Linked DNA regions of Homo sapiens: regions 2 and 3 are each linked to region 1. Evidence: promoter capture Hi-C in 16 types of primary human blood cells and fetal thymus (Javierre and others, 2016). All regions are on one chromosome and are shown on one strand. Each heading gives the region's core, a stretch centred on a gene start or on the middle of the fragment in contact. The rest is flanking DNA. Distances are from core to core; before and after follow the strand shown. Region 1 holds the start of LONRF1 (LON peptidase N-terminal domain and ring finger 1). Region 2 overlaps PTK2B (protein tyrosine kinase 2 beta). Region 3 has its middle 2.4 kb from the start of BNIP3L.

Region 1 (3,068 bases), core at 227-2,726:
GAGGTGCTCCTTGGATCTAGCTGCAATTTGCTTCAGGTGCAATGTGAGTGATAAATGAACTTGTTTCTGTCTGCATCCTGTTGGAACAGGAGGCTTGGCTTTTTCTCAGGCACCTCTTTTTTATTCATTCCCTTTAGGGTAATATAACTCTGTCTTTTCTGACGTTACACGACTTGTTGATTGTGTAGTGAAAACACATGAACTCAAAACATTTTTTAGCCTTAATTGCCTGTTCCTTATAAAGAGAAATATTAAACGTTTACCAATTTCATACATAGCATGCTCAGGTGAACTTTCCAATTAGCAACTTCTTTTACTTTGAAAATCTCATATATTTCTATGAAATATTACATATTTTATTAAATATTACATATTAGTCTAACGTAGTAGTAGTGGAATAGACGTGATCTTAAAATCTGTATTAGCTGTGTGATTTTTGACAAATAACTTTCCCTGTGTTTCCAATCATTTGAAAAAGGACTAAAAGTCCTAAGTGACTTCCAACATTAGCGATCTAATACCCTATCATCAAATCTGTATTTTCAGCTGAGAGCTTTAAACTTGCTGCTGTGAAGTTTAAGGGAAATAGCACCCATTATATATCAACCCGATCATTTTCTTCTGTCAGCAAAACTGCAGAGCCAGCTTGGGTTGTAGTAATACGGTGACCGCCATGTGAAACATGTTTCTTGGTGTTTTCTTTTAAAACTGCCAAATATAGACCTTAACCAGCTGTAAGGCAGTGCTTGAGGTGTGGAGACACCTGAGGAAGCTGTGGGCTTTCTCCCTCGAGGTGGGCCCACGATGAGTTTTAAGCAAGACGGGCAAGCAGTCACCTGGCACCAGGAAAAACTCCTTGCCCTCTGGAGGGAGTCGCCCCAGGAACGTGGGTTTTTTGTTCATATTTAAAGTTGAGTCCTCTAGAACCGAAGAGTCCCAGTCATCTGCCGAAGGTGCGCTCCCAGGCCCCCTGCTTGGGCGCGCCCACCTGGAACATGGGCGTAGAGCTATGAAAATGCAGACCCGCACAAGCGCGAGGCCACGCGGGGAGACCCCCGCCCGCCAGGAGTTGGGGCAGGTCCGGCCTGGGCGGGGGCGTCGGGGGAGGGGTGGTGACCCGGAGTCCCGCGCGGCAGGGGAGCGTCCCCCAACCCCCGGCAGGGGCGAGGGCCACCGCAGGTGGCGGCGTTGGCAGACAGGCAAGCGGGGACTGAAGCTCCGGGGTCCTTCCGGCTTTGTTCCGTCACGAGCCGAGCCCTCCTTTCCGGAGAAGCCAATTAGATCTCCGACGGAGGAATCATCCGACCTGCGTCCCCCACCCGGAGGGGGCTCGGAAGGGGCGGGGCCCAGCGCTTGGCTCCTCGGGAGCGCGGCCGCGGGCGGCGTGGGGGAGTCCCGGGCGCCGTCGCCGAGCCCGGCCCCGCCCTCGCCAGGCCCCGCCCTCGGGGCTTCCCGGGCGCGCGCAGCCCCGCCGTGTCCGCGCGCCACGCCCCCCTGCTCGCGGGCCGCGTGCGGAGCCGCGCGCCCGGGAGGCTCCGGGACCGTGGCGGCGGGCGGCGGCGGCGCAGCCCTCCGCGGGCCATGTCCTCTCCGGCGGTGGCGAGGACCTCCCCAGGAGGGAGTCGGGAGATGGCCCCAGCGCCGCAGGGCCGAGGCCGGTTCTGGGAAGTGGGCGGCGGCAGCGGCCATCGGCTGGAGCGCGCGGCCGCGGAGTCGGAGCGCTGGGAGCTGCTGCTCCGCCGCGGGGAGCTGCTGGCGCTGGGCGGCCACCTGAAGGGCGCGCTGGAGGCGTTCGCGGCGGCGCTGCGCCGCGGGGCCCCGGCCAGGCCCGAGTGCCTGGGCGCCCTGGTGGACTGCCTGGTGTTCAACTACCGGCTCCGCCACGGGCTGGGCTGGAGCGCGGCCCCGGTTGCAGGCGCTGACGGCGGCGCCGGCGGGCTCCTCAGATGCCTGGGCTGCCGGGGCTTCCTGAGCGAGCCGGTGACCGTGCCCTGTGGCCACAGCTACTGCCGCCGCTGCCTGCGGAGGGAACTCCGCGCCCGCTGCCGCCTCTGCCGGGACCGGCTGCCGCCCGCCACCGCCAGTGCCACTGATGCTGAAGGGACCGCCCCGCGGCCGCCGCCTCTGGCCGCCGCCATCGCCGCTTCAGACTTCAGAACCAGCGTCGTCCTCAACCACCTGGCCGAGAAGTGGTTTCCGGGCCAGCGCGAGCGGGCCCGGGCGGCCGGCAGGCTCGGGGAGCTACTGCACCAGGGGCGCTACCGGGAGGCCCTGGCCGCCGCCTGCGAGGCGCTGCGAGCAGGTGACCGCGCGGGGATGCGGCGGGGCCGGGCCGACCGCACCCTCCTGGCCCCGAGGGCCGGGGACCCGGAGCTTGTCTGCGCCCCGAGAGTCTCCTCTGCTTCCCCGGGGCCGCTGGGCCGCTGGCGTGTCGGGTCTCGGGGTGCTGGGGGGTGTGGGAGGGGGCGGCGCCCCGGGGTGCTTCGGTCATAATGGGGATCGCCCTGGGAGCCGACTGTGACGCGGCGCGGGGAGGGGCGCTCGGCGCGGGGTTCCCTCGGCCGCGGCCTGGCTGTCGGGCGCGCGCTCCCGGCGCGGAGTGGGTGACCTGGACCGAGGCCGCCCCGGCGCGGGATGGGTGGTAGCTGGGCTATCCCGAGCGGCCGCTCGCTTCCTGCCGCGCGCTTTCCGGGAATTGGCTCTCGGGCCGGGCCCGCCGCGGGGAAACGACTGCCGGGGCGGGGAGAGAATCCCCCGCGAGGGCAACTAGGCCGGGCAGGCGGCGTCTCCCTTCCTCACCCACAAAAGTCACCGGGACAATTGGGAACCGCGGGAGGGCAGAATTGCATAAGCTGGGGGCGGGGGGCGTTGTGTAACGGGTGACGTCCGGTGGGCGTGGCGGGAGCTCCGCGCGGGCGCCCGGCCCCGGGAGGCCCTGCAGGCCGCCGGGCTTGGGGCTTGGGGCGGAGCTGCCCAGGGTGGTCCCTTGCTACCTGGAAATGCCTGAACTGGTTCCTCTTGAAAGTTTCAGCTGGCCTGTTTCAGATCCTGCTTATTTCCTATGTACT
Region 2 (3,068 bases), core at 169-2,668, about 15 Mb before region 1:
GCCGGGGGTTTAACGTTTGTGCAGGGTGATGTCTTCAGGCTCCAGACCCTTGTGAGGCAGGGATTAACTCAACAAATACCATCCTGACTACAAGGTGGGCACTAGAAACACTGTTCACCAGCCCTGGGCATGAAGAAGCTTGACCTCTGTCTGGGTCCCAGGAAAGAAAGAAAGAAAGATAGGGAGAGAGAAAGAAAGAGAGAAGGTAAAACCCAAAACCTGTGTCATTCTACTTACATGCAGTGGGAATTCTAATCCAAGTAATTAAAATAAAAACAAATCCAGAGATGGTGACAAGTGATTCAAGCAGAGGAAAAAGCAGAACTCTGGAGTGCATTTCCATAAGCAAAAACACATAAATACCCTGCTCCTCCTGCCCCAATTCACAGTGACGATCCATACAACCAAGCAACCCACCTTGAGAAAGGGGCAGCAGATGCACGTTATAGATTAGAAAATCAAGAACTGAAGTAAATGGAATAACTTAAGACAATAAAAAGTATATTTGCAAGGCCAGGTGCAGTGGCTCACGCCTGTAATCCCAGCACTTTGGGAGGCTGAGGCAGGCAGATCGCTTGAGGTCAGGAGTTTGAGACCAGCCTGGCCAATATGGTGAAACCCCTTCTCTACTAAAAATACAAAAAATTAACCAGGCATTGTGGTGCATGCCTGTAGTCCAGCTACTCGGGAGGCTGTGGCAGGAGAATTACTTGAACCTGGGAGGTGGAGGTTTCAGTGAGCTGAGATCGCGCCACTGCACTCCAGCCTGGGTGACAGAGCAAGACTATGTATGTTTCAAAAATATATATATTTGCAATATCTAAATAGAAAAAAAAGAAGGTATGCAAAGTCCAAGATAATAATCCTAATGGCTAAAATGGGGAGGGGAGATGTTGAAAAGAAGATAATACTATAATACCAGTGGACAACAGTTTGGGACATGAGAAGAGAAAGATTAGAGTCAAAGTGCCATAAAATCCTTCCAATTTGGTAAGGAGGATAATGATATTGATTAATGTTAGACCTTAAATTCAAGTATGTGTTAAAAAATTAAAATAATAGAAACCTATTATTAGGTTTTATTTTTAACCTATTTTTCCATTAAAATAATAGAAACCTAATATATAACTTCTAAACCAATAGGCTACAAGAGGAGAAAATAATAAACACATAATCAATACAGTGAAAGGCAAGAGGTGAGAAAAGGCAAAGATGAAGCATGGCAAACAAAATAATGTAGTATACATATACTAAATATATTAGAAGTCTTAATAAATAAAGAAGCTTAAATTGCCTGTTAAAAGACAAAGACACTTAGACTTAATTTTTTAAAAATCCAGCTATCTGTAGTTTACAAGAAGCAAACCTAAAAACATTAAGACATCAAAAGTTAAAAATAAAGAGACAGAAAAATATAAACCAGTTACTAAGTGAAAGTTGATATTGATATATAAAATAGCAAATAAGATTTGAAGAAAAACATTAAAAATATGATTATGAGGAATCATGTTAAAAAGGAAAAATTTGCCAAGAAGTTACAATCATAAGCTTATATGCACCAAAACACAGACAATTAAAAATATAAAGCAAAAATGGACAGAAATGCAAAAAGTATTGCTTCTTTTCTTCTTCATGGTTTCATTTGGCCTGAGTGCTACAAAACTGTGTAGCAGTCAACTCAACTGAGGATGGCTTAACTCAGCTGAACCTACAGTGCAGAGCTATATCCACAGCCCTGTGCTGCCCTGGGGGAATTTAGATGGTTCTAACCAATCTACCAAGGAGGGGAGCAAAGAGTGAGGATGAAGAGAACTAATGAGAAAAAGGGAACGTCTACTATGTTTAAGACATTGTGCTAAGAACTAAGTAAACCTTCTTATGCAACCCCATAGAAATCCAATGAGGTTGGCTTGGTTACCCCAATTACTACTAGTAACCCCAATTTACAGAGTAGAAACCGAGCTTCAAAGATATTAAGTGACTTTTCAGAGGTCACATGACTGGGGAGCTATAGAGTCTAAATTGCAGTCATCTGACATAATCTCCATGAGGCTAGGGACCATATTTTCACTCCATATCCCTAGCATGTAAAACTATGCCTGGCACAGATTAGGCACTTGATAAATATCAGATGAATGAATGAATGCAGCTGTAATTCCAAGCCTGTGCATTTTCTATTATGCCAGAGCACCTACTCTGTTATCTCACTTACTCTTGGCTATCTATATCTTTATCTCACTCAGATCTCCTCTTCAAAAAAGGCATCTCCTCTCTCTAACCTGACCCATTTCCCCTCTCTCATTCAGAGTTGACAAAGGAGAGAGAAGAAAGCCCAGTTTCACAACAAGAGACCCAATTTCCTTCAAAGCTGGTGGTTGGGAAATGATGCTCCTGATAGCGGTTAAGGGAGATGGCAGGCACGGGGTGGCCCCCTGCACTGGAGATTTGCAAGAAAATGAATTTCCCATTCTCTTCTGCTGTCAGTTGCTGGTTACCTCCCTATCCTACAAGATCATGAGAAGACCCCTGGAAATGATGTGAGGACCATGAGGGATTAATATTTAAACACCAACTGAAGTGGCTCTGGAACCATACAAGTGGTGAGAAAATTCTTGGAGACAGAAGAAGTGTCAGAGGAATTTTAATTTGTCAGTATTTTTTGTACTTTTTATTTTGAAAGAATTATAGACTCACAGGAAGTTGTACAAATAGCACATAGAGTCCTGAGTACCCTTGACTCATCTTCCCCTAATGGGAACACCTTGTAGAATAATAATATCAAAACCAGGAAACTGACATTCATATAATACTGTGACTGAACTACAGACCTGATCCCATTTTCATTATTTTTTTTACATGGATTCATTCGTATGTGTGGGTGTGTGTGGTATGTATGTAGTTCCATGCAATTTCATCCTGTGAACACACTCATGAGACCATCACCACAGTCAAGATACAGAACTGTTTCATCACCGTGAAAAGACTTCTTTGGGTTACCCCTTTTAGACACATTCGTGCCACCACCCATCTCCACAACCCCTAGTTTGCTCTCCATCTCTACAGTTTCA
Region 3 (3,068 bases), core at 349-2,848, about 14 Mb before region 1:
TTTTCATGTAATCAGATTTATCATTCTTACATGGCTTGGGGAGACAGTCACACCAAGATTACTAATCTATAATTCCCTTATAACTTTTTCTAATTTTCTTATAGGCTTAACTTTACATTTAGAGCTCTAATCCATCTGAAATTTATTTTCCATATGCTGTAAATTATTTAACTTCAATTCTTCCCAATTTTGTAGCCCATTGACCTAATAATATTAATTTTAAGCCATCCTTTCTACACTGATTTGAAATTGCACCTTTGTCACTCTCTGAATGACCACAAAAATGTGAGTCTGTTTCAGGGCTATCTGCAATACCTCTGTTAGATAACTATTAAAGTTTCTCTTCCTTTGTCTTTTTCAGATGTTAATGGCTAGTTACTCTTCAGATGAACTTAAAAATGGACTTGTCCAAGATTGACCTTGTGTTGGTAATTATTGAAGCTATGTAATACATTAAAGTATTCCTCTAATTTTTTAATATATTTGAAAAAGTCCATGCTAAAAGGTTTTTTTTAAGGATTGATTTGTCAAATCCCTTTGCAAATTCTTTTAAGATTTTGGTCAGAAATGAACTCTATTAATAGATTGAGTGCTGTTTCCGGTCATACCCGGAAGCAGGAGTTCAAGCCGCAGCTGGTAGGGATTGGCGGCTGCTGGCCATCTGAGTTTTATTAAAACTGCTCGCCGCGAAGCCAGTCTTCAGCCAGAATGTCCAGCAGAAACAACAACAAGCTGCCCAGCAACCTGACTGCAGTTACAGAATCTGATGAAGCGAGACCCACCACCCTCCATCTAGGAGTTTCTACAGCAGTATAATCACTACACATCCAATGTGGAGATTTTCAAATTGCAACCATATAAACCCGGTAAAGAACTAGCAGAGCTGGTGGTGTTTATGGCACAGAACGTCCTAAATATGTGCATCTGAATAATAGGAGAGAAAGAGAGAAACTTCAGAAGAGCCTTTGCTTTGTTATAGATTAGTTACTGCTACCCAGGGTATCTAAGTAATTTTCCTCAAGTGGTGAAAGATCTTCTGTCCTGTAATCATACTGTATTGGATCCAGATCTTCGAATGACATTTTGCAAAGCTTTGATCTTGCTGAGAAATAAGAATCTCATCAATCCATCAAGCCTGCTAGAACTCTTCTTTGAACTTCTCTGTTGCCATGATAAGCTTCTGCAAAAGACTTCATACACATATATCGTGACTGATATCAAGAATATAAATGCAAAACACAAGAATAAAGTGGATGTAGTATTGTAAAATTTCATGTATACCATGTTGAGAGATAGCAATGCAACTGCAGCCAAGATGTCTTTAGATGTTATGATTGAACTCTACAGAAGGAACATCTGGAATGATACCAAAACTGTCAATGTTATCACAACTGCATGTTTCTCTTAGGTCACCAAGATATTAGTTGCTGCTTTGACATTCTTTCTTGGAAAAGATGAAGATGAAAAACAGGCCAGTGACTCCGAATCTGAGGATGACGGACCAACAGCAAGAGACCTGCTAGCACAGTATGCTACAGGGAACAAAGTTCCCAAAACAAGAAAAAGTTGGAAAAGGCAATGAAAGTGCTCAAGAAACAAAAGAAGAAGAAAAAACCAGAGGTGTTTAACTTTTTAGCCGTTCACTTGATTCATGATCCCCAAGATTTTGCAGAAAAACTACTAAAGCAGCTTGAGTGCTGTAAGGAGAGGTTGGAAGTGAAGATGATGCTCATGAACCTCATCTCAGATTGGTGGGAATTCATAAGCTCTTCCTCTTCAATTTCTATCACTTTTTGCGAAGGTTTCTGCAGCCCCACCAAAGAGAAGTAACAAAGAACCTTCTGTTTGCTGCACAAGCATCTCATCACCTAGTACACCCAGCGATTATTCAATCATTGCTTATGACTGTGGCCAACAATTTTGTTAACGACAAGAACTCTGGAGAAGCCATGACAATAGGAATCAATGCTGTAAAAGAGACAACAGCTCAGTGTCCTCTGGCCATGACTGAAAAGCTTCTCCAAGACCTGGCTCAGTATAAAACACACAAGGATAATAATGTAATGATGTCTGCTAGAACTTTGATTCGGCTCTTCCGAACACTGAATCCTCAGATGCTGCAGAAGAAATTCTGGGGTAAGCCTACAGAAGCCTCCATAGAAGCAAGAGTACAAGAATATGGAGAATTAGATGCTAAAGGTTACATTCCAGGAGCAGAAGTTCTGGAAGTTGAGAAAGAGGAGAGTGCTGAAAATGATGAAGATGGATGGGAAAGTACCAGTCTCAGTGAGGAGGAGGATGCCGATGGCGAATGGGTTGATGTGCAACACTCTTCCAATGAAGAACAGCAAGAAATTTCCAAGAAGCTGAACACCATGCCCATGGAGGAGCAGAAAGCCAAAACTGCAGCCGTCAGCACCAGTCGAGTTTTAAGTTAGGAAGACTTCCAGAAAATCCGCATGGCGCAAATGAGAAAAGAACTTGACGCTGTCCCCGGGAAATCCCAGAAGAGGAAATATATTGAAATCGACAGTGATGAAGAGCCGAGGGGTGAATTACTTTCTCTTCCGGACATTGAACGCCTTCATAAAAAGCCAAAATCTGACAAAGAGACAAGACTAGCAACTGCAATGGCTGGAAAGACAGACCGAAAAGAATTTGTGAGGAAGAAAACCAAAGTGAATCCATTTTCCAGTTCAAAAAGTAAAGAGAAGAAAAAACAGAAGAACTTTATGATGATGTGGTATAGCCAGAATGTCTGGTCAGAAAATAAGCGTTCCTTCTGAGAAAAACAGTTGGCGCTGCGAGATGCCTTTTGAAAAGAGAAAAAGAATGAAGTAACTTCCCAGAAAGTTTTCCATTCCAAGAAGAATGCTAAGTTTGTGTCATTACTCTGAAAATTGGTAAATCAAGCATGTTTGTTTACATTAAAAAGTCCAGAAGCACTATATTATGAAAACTGCTGAAAATGTGGCAGCAATTTGGTGTTTTTATTTTGGGGACAGCTAATGATGGGAAATGTTAATGTAAATAGTGGTGGTAGTGTAATATCATTTATCATTCATGCA

Evidence for each region. Contacts are between HindIII fragments. The CHiCAGO score rates a contact against its expected background, and 5 or more counts as called.
Region 2: a fragment that was not itself captured here is called in contact with the fragment with the promoter of LONRF1 in region 1 in 1 of 17 cell types (total B cells); the score reaches 10.4 in total B cells.
Region 3: a contact is called between a fragment that was not itself captured here and the fragment with the promoter of LONRF1 in region 1, in 2 of 17 cell types (naive CD8 T cells and total B cells). The highest score is 9.6, in naive CD8 T cells.

Annotation. Positions count from the first base shown.
Region 1 is chr8:12,753,934-12,757,001 of GRCh38, reverse strand. LONRF1 (LON peptidase N-terminal domain and ring finger 1) reads left to right here and starts at 1,476. Exons shown (of 12, transcript NM_152271.5): 1 at 1,476-2,302. The coding sequence starts at 1,582. RefSeq lists silencers at 978-1,647, 1,728-2,067, 2,071-2,261, 2,158-2,697, 2,748-2,827 and 1 more and an enhancer at 1,183-2,002. The HindIII fragment of the contact is 11,195 bases long and covers 1-3,068 here.
Region 2 is chr8:27,356,859-27,359,926 of GRCh38, reverse strand. All of the region lies in intron 1 of PTK2B (protein tyrosine kinase 2 beta), which reads right to left. Among named protein-coding and RNA genes, the nearest start is that of PTK2B, 33 kb to the right of the region's middle. The HindIII fragment of the contact is 264 bases long and covers 1,287-1,550 here.
Region 3 is chr8:26,379,160-26,382,227 of GRCh38, reverse strand. It overlaps the pseudogene SDAD1P1. Among named protein-coding and RNA genes, the nearest start is that of BNIP3L, 2.4 kb to the left of the region's middle. RefSeq lists an enhancer at 1-697. The HindIII fragment of the contact is 838 bases long and covers 1,180-2,017 here.